Linked DNA regions of Homo sapiens: region 2 is linked to region 1. Evidence: promoter capture Hi-C in human tissues and cell types (Jung and others, 2019). All regions are on one chromosome and are shown on one strand. The core of a region is centred on a gene start or on the middle of the fragment in contact, and the rest is flanking DNA. Distances in the headings are between cores, read along the strand shown. Region 1 holds the start of RFPL3S (RFPL3 antisense). Region 2 overlaps LARGE1 (LARGE xylosyl- and glucuronyltransferase 1).

Region 1 (5,166 bases), core at 1,626-4,125:
ATCTAACACCTATAACGCACCTGATCATTTTTCTCTATCTGATATCAATTGAAAAATGAAATAACCAAGAAAATTACACACATGTTAGGCAAAGACAGGCTACTTTACCTTGGTAACAGAGAAGGGGTCCTCACTTGCCCACTCTTTGGAATCCACCTTCCATTGATCTTCTGGGGGAACTGAAAGGACACAACATGACTGTCAGTTCATTGGTGGTGACATGAACAAAGGGCTAGAACTTATGGATGTGGTTGGTTAACAAGCATGAATTGAGCTTCTCCTGGGCCATCCTCTTCTATGGACCAAGGAAGGCAGAGAGACGGGCAGAAAGGAAATGAGAAATAGAGCCTTTGTCTTTCCAGGTAATAGCAGATGAAAGCGACACGAAATACTCAAACTTCAAATGAGCAACTACTAAAATGCATGCTAGAATTCAACCACAGAGTCCTGTCACTCCCTCAGCCCATTTTAAAGTCCAGCAGAACTGCCACTGACTCCTTGATATTGACCAACTCCCTTTCAACCTCCACAGACCCCCATCTGCTGCTGTAACATTTAACATCTGGGGTATAGGATTCAGCCCCTGTTTATGTGTAAATTTTTATTGAGGAACTAAATTCAATATCAGGTACCAGGGCTAATTATATTTACTCAATTCTTTGTTATAAATCAATTATTAAAAACTGGAAAATACTGAAATACATGTTAAAATATCCACTGTAAATCAAAGATCTTCCTTTTAGTCTTCCCTTCCTATCCCTTGTGTTTGCAATCATTGCATGAGGGGGCCTAGTTTCAGCCAGGTCTAGTTCACCTAGCCATATGAGGTCTAGTTTCAGCCCAAGCTACCCACAGTGAAGGAAGGCAGAGTGAGGAGATGACCCCATGTGAGCACCGAGGCTCTTTAACCCAGCTGTACAGGAGAGTTGCCACAAGGGTGACACCTGAGGCTAATTGTGAAGTGGTATCCTGTGTTCTGTGATTCTTGTGCCTTAGCCACCTGAGTAGCTGGAATTACAGGTGTGCACCACCACGCCCAGCTAATTTTGCATTTTTAGTAGAGATGGGGTTTCTCCATGTTGGTCAGGCTGGTCTTGAACTCCTGACCTCAGGTGATCTGCCTGCCTCGGCCTCCCAAAGTGCTGGGATTACAGGCATGAGCCACCGCGCCCAGCTGCCTTATTTATTCTTAACACATGTAAGTGCCTCTAACTTTCGATTGTTTCCAAGTCATGGAACGAACAACCTCCTTAGAAAGAACTCTGAAGGATAGGTCAGGAGAACTAAGTCACACAATCCATCAGAAACAGTATTAACAGTTTTTCAAAGTTACACTTTATATGCAAACTTGTACAATTATCATCTTATTATTTTTAAATGTATCTTTACATATATGTATGTGACCTACGTGTTTCCTGGTGTGAGTAAATCTGTATGTTCTTGGTTAATAGTGTTTACCGATTCATTTCACTTCTCTATCTTTGTATGTTGAAATATGAACTACTCTCTGGATGAGAAAAAATGATTACACTTGATTATATTTACCTTTGGAAAGGTAAGTGGTTTGGGTGATTGACTATAATTGTTATCTCTATCATTTTGGATAAACCCCAATCATAAAAATAAGTGTGTTTTGTTTCACACACTGACACATAGACAATACACATTCTTACTTCTTTTCAAAAAGTTAATATGTGAATATAAATGACATATTCCAAATTTACTAAACTGAATACACATTTCATGAAAAAGGAGAGAGGAAAGACATACTAAAAACAGGCCAGGGCCTGGTGTGGTGGCTCACGCCTGTAACACCACCACTTTGGGAGGCCGAGGCAGGTGGATCACCTGAGGTCAGGAGTTCAAGACCAGCCTGGCCAACATGGTAAAACCTTGTCTCTACAAAAATACAAAAATTAGCCGGGCATGATGGTGGGTGCCTGAAATCCCAGCTATTCGGGAGGCTGAGGCGAGAGAATCATTTGAACCCGGGAGGCGGAGGTTGTAGTGAGCCGAGATCGCACCGTTGCACTCCAGCCTGGGCGACAGAGTGAGACTCCATCTCAAAAACAAACAAACAAACAAAAAAACAACAACAAAAGACAAAGATGGACACACTTCGTTGTGTTAAAAGCCTCAAAGACATCTGCATCATTCTAGCTTTGCTCCTAATTTTTAAAATTAATGATTTTAATAGGTTCTTAATTAGGTAAAAACTGCATTAAAACATACTTTGCCATATTTTTCCCAGAAGGATACCTAATTGGGTGGTTTGAGGGGTGCCAGATGTAACAGGAAATAAGACATGTCTTTTAAATAAAGGAAAAGCTCAAAGGCATCCTGCTTGATACTAGAATCAAATATATAAATTGAGGAATAAAACATAACCGGGAAACACATTTATAACTGCATATGAAAAATACAGAGGAGAATTTTTTAATAAAATATATTTTTAAATATTAACTAGTACATTTGAGAGGACAGCATTCAACAGGCCAATGTGAACATACCTTTAATGCAGGAACTCAGGTTCCCCATAAGAAAGACCAGAATCTGTGAAAATGACAGCAAGCATGTTCAACCTGCTATGAACTTTGAAAAACTCAGCACAGACAGTGGCAGTTAGGACCGAGGGCAAGATATACCCAATCACATAACCATGGTGATAGGAGCATCATCAACGTCTCAGGGTAAAGTCACAATGTGTATTGTGAGGTCCGCTTTCTGCTGCACCAACAAGAGTGCTTTCACACGCACAGGAGGGTCATTAAAGATTAGGCCTTTTACGGCAGGGAGTGGTGGCTCACACCTGTAATCCCAGCACTTTGGGAGGCCGAGGTGGGTGGATCACGAGGTCAGGAGATAGAGACCATCCTGGCTAACATGGTGAAACCCCGTCTGTACTAAAAACACAAAAAATTAGCCGGGCGTGGTGGCGGGAGCCCCCAGCTACTCGGGAGGCTGACGCAGGAGAATGGCGTGAACCCGGGAGGCGGAGCTTGCAGTGAGCCGACATAGCGCCACTGCACTCCAGCCTGGGCGACAGAGCGAGACTCCGTAAAAAAATAAAATAAAATAAAATAAAATAAAAGATTAGGCGTTTTACTTAAAAAAAAAACAACAAAACCCAAGCTCATTAATTACTATTCTGTGCTTATTAAAATAAGTTTTAGGAGGAGAAATTGTGTACCCCAAAATACACTCAATGGCAAGAATTTCAAACTGAGCAGGGGCAAAACCGATATGTTAGTAACAACCAGAAGTTCCATTCTCGATTCGAAATTCCATTGCCAAATATTTCTACCATTCCTGAGTCATCTAATATTTCTAGAACCAATAAGCAAACTGTTCAGAATTAAAGACAGCATAAATGGATATTGTTATAAAAGTCATGTTTCTTAAAAAGTGACATTTTTTAAAGTCACATTTTAAAAGTCATATTTCCCTAAAAAGTCATATTTCTACCATTCCTGAGTGATCTAATGTTTCTAGAAGCAATAAACTGTTCAGAATTAGAAAAAAGTGTTACTTGATATTATAAAAATCATATTTCTCTCACAATATAATTATGAAACTTATTTTTCCACTTATCTCTATATATTACTATGCACTTATTTATCTCCCAAACTTTGTGAATTCACAGAGGAATTTGTCTACCATTGTGTATGTAAACGGCTGGCCATTCACTGAGTATTTAAAGGAAAAAAAAATCACTATATTTTCACCAGTGCATCTTCTCGGTGGGGTGAACACTTTGGGTGAATACATATAATTTTTTATTTGAGACAGGGTCTCACTCTGTCACTCAGGCTGGAGTGCAGTGGCTTGATCATGGCTCACTGCAGCCTTGACCTCCCAGGCTCAGGTGATCCTCCCAACTCAGCCTCCCATGTAGCTGGGACTACAGGTTCTTGCCGCCATGCTCAGCTAATATTTTGTAGAGATGGGGTTTTTCCATGGTGCCCAGGCTGGTCTTCAACTCTTGGATTCAAGCAATCCACCCACCTCGACCTCCCAAAGTATTGGGATTAGAGGCGTGAACCACCATGCCCAGCCTAATACATATAATTAAAGTGTTTCTGAATGCAGAATTTTAGATAACTTTCAAAATGTATAACTACGTGTGTATTCTGGCTGATACATAACACCCAATTGCAAATACTTTTATGATATGCCCAAGAAAACAAGCTGTTGAAAGTGACCTGCCCTAAAATAAATAGAACAAATGAAAATTTTAGGGTTAAGATGAGAGAGTTGCTATGTTTCAAAGAGAATAGGTACCCTTCATGATATAAATATTACAGTACAAATGTCTATCATTGCTAAGTACAAATTTCTAGAACAAATAAATAGGTCACAAATGATGTATACAATCTGCATTAATATAGATGATGCTATATTTTGTCCAGTGATTATAAAACAGAGGGTGTAATGGGGTAGGTGCTGAAAGAATAGGTCATTCTGTGTTGTTATAAACAGAAAATTTCAATGGCTTCCAGATTGAACAAATATATGTATATACACAAATTATACACACACACACACGATACTATAGTTATATGTGTATGTGTTTGTATACTCAGAAATGCAGCAAACTAAAAAAAAACTTTAACAATCCCCACAGATTCATGCTTCTGAATGCTCAAATGGAGGAGAAAATTTAAAAAGAAGTGGAAAATATAGTGAGAAAATCTACTCATCCTATTGGAGGAGCTGATATCTATTTTAAGTTTAGAGAGGCAGGCTTAAATAAGTAAATGTTTAGGATTTGAAATTTAATTGTACAAGTATTTTTTTCGTTGAATTTCCTCCCAACTTTGTAAAATCATCAGATCAAAAACACATCATTTGATTAGGGTGCAGTTTTATAGTACCTAACAATCAAGATTTTGGAAAAAAAAAAAAAAGTTGATGATGGTGAATTTTGATAAATTCTAACATTGTCCTAGTTGAAAGAGGTAAATATGTTTTTATATGTGCTAAGAATTGTCTAATTTAAGAGTACAATGATGTTGTTATGACTGTTGATAAATTTCAATCGTTTTTGAAATTATAACTAAAAGAATGTTTTTATTTGGCTATTATTCCAGTTGATTTCAACAATGCTAAGTGAAATACATGTATCAGAACAAAATCATGATGATGTCACAAATGTTAACTATCTAA
Region 2 (5,166 bases), core at 1,072-3,571, 1.3 Mb after region 1:
CTCTCCCTCCCCTGCCAACTCCCCAACAGGCCCCAGTGTGTGTTGTTCCCCTACTTGTGTCCATGTGCTCATTGTTCAGCTTCCACTTATGAGTGAGAACATGCGATTTTTGGTTTTCTTTTCCTGTGTTACTCTGCTGAGGATAATGGCTTCCAGCTTCATCCATGTTCATGCAAAGGACATTGTCTCATTCCTTTTTATGGCTGCATAGTATTCCATGGTGTATATGTACCATATTTTCTTTATTGAATCTATCACTGATGGGCATCTGGGTTGATTCCAGTCTTTGCTATTGGGAATAGTGCTGCAATAAACATATGTGTGCATGTATCTTTGTAACAGAATGATTTATATTCCTTTGGGTTTTCAGCATTTTTAAAAACAGCCACTCCCATGGGATTCTCATGTGTAATGAAGGTTGAGAAATGCTGGCTGAGGCATTTCCCCAGACTCTCTAGATTCAAAGGAAGTCTTAGCATTGCCACACTTAATTATAGTATTGCTCTGACCCTGCACTCCATTTCCCTTACACAAGCCTCTACTGTATTCTCTCAGCAGCTTCCATCATGTGACCCAGACCCACATGATTTCCTGGTATTGTAGCTCCTCCAAGCATAGGGCCTGCTTTGCTCCTCGGCATCGCCCTGCTTCCTGGAAGACAGTCTCCTTCAAAAGCAGTTCCCTTCTAGCCCAGCTGCCTGACTATCCAGCTTCTCCGGTTTCTGGTTCCTTTCTCTTGACCAATCACAGGTCACCTTATTCCAATATATGTTTCAATTTTTCATTCTCCATATGAGACTATATTCATTTAGCAATTTGTAATTTTTGTTAGAAAATGCCCTCCTTTTAATTAACATAAAGATTTCACACCCTCATTCAATGCCAAATATCTAATATCATTTGATATTTCAAAGTAAATTAAATATTGCAGCCAAAGTCATTTTAGAAAAATTTAGAAAACTCAGTTTGATCTTAAAAGTTAATTTTGATCATGAGATGTCCACAGGAGAGCTGAGTCTGCCAACGTGTCATCAGCTTTTCTTTTCTAGGCAGTTTATAAGTCACAGCAAGACACAGGTCCAGGCTGAGCCATTTTCTTAAGTTTCAAAAGCATGGAATCAGATTTGCTGTGGGAAGGAAAATGGCAATGATGACACACAAAGGCTGCTCGCTTTTTATGAGGTACACAGGGAATGTTTTGCCCCAAAATTCCCCTAAGTGATTTTCTGGAAGTTATCTTTGGCAACCAAAGCACACTTGAGTTCCAGCAAAGGCCCTGGAGACAGATCTTCTGACAAAGATGGAAGAACAGTTAAAAAAAAAAAAAAAAAAAGGAGAGTTCCTCACTAGCTTCTAAAAAGAATTTGCAACTACAGTGCCAGGGAAAGAGGCCTGGATTCACTGCACCATAATAGGCTGAATGAGATCTGACTTTTGTCTTCCATAAAATCATTTCCAAGAACGTTAGCTTAAAGAGCTTCATTAAGTCAAGAAAATGAAGACATTTTTAGCACCAATTTGCTGTACCTATACCTGGGTTTAGACTACAAATGCTTGAAGTGTGTTCTAACGAGCAATGATACCAGTTTTTGTCTTTTGAAACTTCAGGTTCAATGATTTCAAAGCTTCAAATGTTTTGTTGTGTGTGTGTGTGTGTGTGTTTTTTTTTTTTTTTTTTGCCAAATATGCTAAGTTTTGAAAGTTGGAGGCAGTTGGTCTTTGAACTGCTGTTACCATGGTGGGGCAACCATGTCTTCCTGCTTCTATAACTGGCCCGTCATATACTCAAGGAGTCTGAGTATGGACAAAAGGGCTTTGTTAGTAGCATTCAAATCGTCACCAACCAAGGCCAAAAAAGATAATGTATTTAGTGCTCTGTTTCCTAGAAAAATGGAAGGACTTGACAGCAGAGTGAAGGTCTTCTCTTAGATCACCAGGTGGTTTAGAAAACCGTCATTGGAGGGTAATGATAACAGTGTATACTAGAAAAGGTGAATAGATATTCACCGCAAATCCTGACAATTGATCTGTGTGTGAGAGCACAATAAATTCACATTCCAGTCATCTTTGAAGAGCCTCTGCCCCCAGTTAGCCCCTAAACTTCAATCACTTTTACACAGCCTTGAAGGCATCACCAGCGTTAGTGACGGTCTCCAATGGTTGAGTCTGAGAAAGCATCCTTTCTCCTTCCCCAGTTTCTTGAGTCCTATTTCATACATATGCAATAGTTGGACACAATCCCCTTTGTTGGTAGATTCATCAAAACTAAAAGCTAAACAACCATAACGATTTTATCCTTTGCAAAGCATCAACTGAGTGTCCTCAATGTGGCTATTTACTATAAAATCAAATGCAGAAATACTATAGAATTTCTTAATTTTCTCTTTAGCAGCACTCAAGATGAAAGATTTCATAAGTGTTTTTTCCACTGATTTAATTTTTTAAAACCTTTGCAATAAATGTGTTATTTGATATGAAATATTCATAGCCCTTATAAAATCCCACTAAAATGTTCCAAGAGTGAGGCGAATCACACGTGCTAAGAATCATATTTTACAGTAAAAATTTTTAATGAGGTTTGATTTTTTTTTTTGTAGCTAAAATCTTGTTCAAATCAGAAGACCCACATGGGATGATTTTTTAGCAAAGATTTTCAATTTTATTTTGCATTCATCATACTGAGTATGTTGAAAACTATCCTTTTCTCACTTTGTGAATCTATACTTGCTGTAAGCCTCAAACTGTCATTCTGGTTGGCCATATTTATTACCAAAAAAGGTTCTATGATTTTTTTTTTTTTTTTGAGCCAGGGTCTCGCTCTGTTGCCCAGGCTGGAGTACAGGGGCTCAGTCTTGGCTCACTGCGACCTCCACCTCCCAGGTTCAAGCGATTCCCTTGCCTCAGCCTCCCAAGTAGCTGGGATTACAGGCGCGCCACCATGCTTGGCTAATTTTTGCATTTTTAGTAGAGACGGGGTTTCACCATGTTGGCCAGCCTGTTCCTCGAACTCCTGACCTCAAGTGATCCATCTGCCTCAGCCTCCCAAAGTGCTGGGATTACAGATGTGAGCTTCCGCACCTGGCATTTCTGTGATTTTTTTTTTTTAAATGAGGAGCACTGACAATAATGTCTGGTTTGGGTTACAGAGGATGAAAGATTTCAATGGCAAACAGCAGCTATTTGAGGATGCCAGACAAATCAGCAAAGCCCTGACCCCATTCATTCCTGCTCCTTGGGCTTCTGTGCCCCTCCTGCTTCACTTGAGAGGAGAAATATCCAAGTGAAATTCAGATCTACAGAGAAGAGTTAGGGACTCTCATCAAAAAGGATCCAACAGAATGATGACCGTACATCATGAGTGTGTCTTTAATTGGACTGCATCAGAATTGAACTATGGTGTTCTGCTGTCCTCGGGAGGGAGGGGGACTACCAGATAACCCACTCAGACTTTGATATCCTTCTCTGTATTTGGAAGACAGTTGTTCCATGAATGTCTTGGGACTGTAAGAAGAAAACTGAATGTGAAACATGACTAAAAATCTAGAGCAGGGGTGTCCAATCTTTTGGCTTCCCTGGGCCACACTGGAAGAAGAATTGTCTTGGGCCACACATAAAAAACACTAACACTAAGGACAGCTTAGGAGCCAAAAAAAAAAAAAAAAAAAAAAAGGAAAAGAATCTCATAGTGTTTTCAAAGTGGCCAAATTTGTGTTGGGCCACATTCAAAGCTGTCCACAGGTTGGATAAGCCTGGTCCAGAGAGTGTTCTTTAGGCTATGCGTCAGGTAGAATGGTCAGTTTGCCTATCTGACCACTGCCCTTGAAATGGTGCACCTGCCAAACCTGAGCAAAAGTTCTCTTCCCTTATACTGCATGTAAGCAAGATCAACATGGGAGGAAAGGCCCTGCCCCATCTTTTCAGGAGCCCCAGCATCAGTGAGGATGGACTTGACTTGCACCATATTCTCGGGGCCCTCTGACATACCCCATCTCCTCTACAGTCAACTGGCTTTGAGACAAATCACCGCCCTTCATCCAAACTCCCCACCCCTTGCCTAGCCTTCTATGGAGACCACCTGCTATGCAAGCCACACTTCACCAGAAGTGTCCAACTCTGGCCTGCAGTGTTCACTCTTCGATAGTGGAACCAGATGAGAGACAGAAATGATGGGGCTGGTAAAAAGAGGAATAGAAAGAGCTAGTTATCAAAGATAAGGGGGACTCTGTACTTGTTAAAGTTAGCAGTGGCAACATAGCCATCCAACGGCATGAGTAGCTGCCATCCAGAATATTCTAACCCATTCCAAAAAAAAAAATGGAAGCAAGTACTTTTGTGAATGTCATTGATTCCTTCAATGGCATCCCCCTGCTGTAAAATGCCACTTCACCTAAATCAGTGTTATCTTCCTCAGCTCCATTGTAAATTAAAAACAAGAGAAAACAAGCAAAAGCCTGGCTGGACATTCCTTTGCCTGTAAGTGACTGTCCTCCTTTTTCCTATCTTCTTTTCCTTCTTCACAGTAGTGTCCAACCACCCTTTATCAGTTTGACTTACATTAAAGTTATATTCCAATTCCAACAAGTATCTATATTAGAAAAAGAAATAAGAGGAGGAAAATGAAAAAAAAAATCACCTCTTTTTTCACCCTTTCCTGACAAATCCAAACCATCCCTTAGGAGAAAATCAGAATGAGGAATGAGGTTTTATCGAAACCGATCAGGGAGAGAGGGGAATAGAAGATTTCATCAGGAGTTCAGCTTGACAGAAATAACGCTTTATTGGGATGGGCACTTGGCAAAGATAACATGTTACCAAGAGCAAGATAGATGTTTGGGTAAAATCTTGTGTTAATACTTATTAAGGTCAAAACCCGCCATCTCTACTTTTGACGGACGGGTATTTTCTTCCAAGTCCTACACCGGAGAGTTTTTATAAGGTGCTTCCAGCAGTCTTATAAAAGTAAGAAGAATAAAACTAAGAACCCTCAACTCAATACCACTATAAGGCAAAGTCAGGATTTTCCTCTGCAAGCTGAGAGGAATGATGCGCTTGAGTGCAGGAAGTAACAGGTGCAGAGGACCAAGGGGAAGCCTATGATGGTGAAGCCTCCAGTACAGGATCCCAATTTCTGACCCCAAAAAGAAAAGCCCCTTGCAGGACAGAGGC

The links. Contacts are between HindIII fragments. The study calls those that stand out against the background at their distance.
Region 2: a fragment that was not itself captured here is called in contact with the fragment with the promoter of RFPL3S in region 1 in 1 of the 25 tissues and cell types used here (thymus).

What each region holds. Positions count from the first base shown.
Region 1 is chr22:32,368,389-32,373,554 of GRCh38, forward strand. RFPL3S (RFPL3 antisense) reads right to left here and starts at 2,876. Exons shown (of 5, transcript NR_104232.1): 1 at 2,810-2,876; 2 at 2,511-2,553; 3 at 109-179. The HindIII fragment of the contact is 22,540 bases long and covers 1-5,166 here.
Region 2 is chr22:33,658,431-33,663,596 of GRCh38, forward strand. All of the region lies in intron 2 of LARGE1 (LARGE xylosyl- and glucuronyltransferase 1), which reads right to left. Among named protein-coding and RNA genes, the nearest start is that of SNORA50B, 44 kb to the right of the region's middle. The HindIII fragment of the contact is 6,747 bases long and covers 1-5,166 here.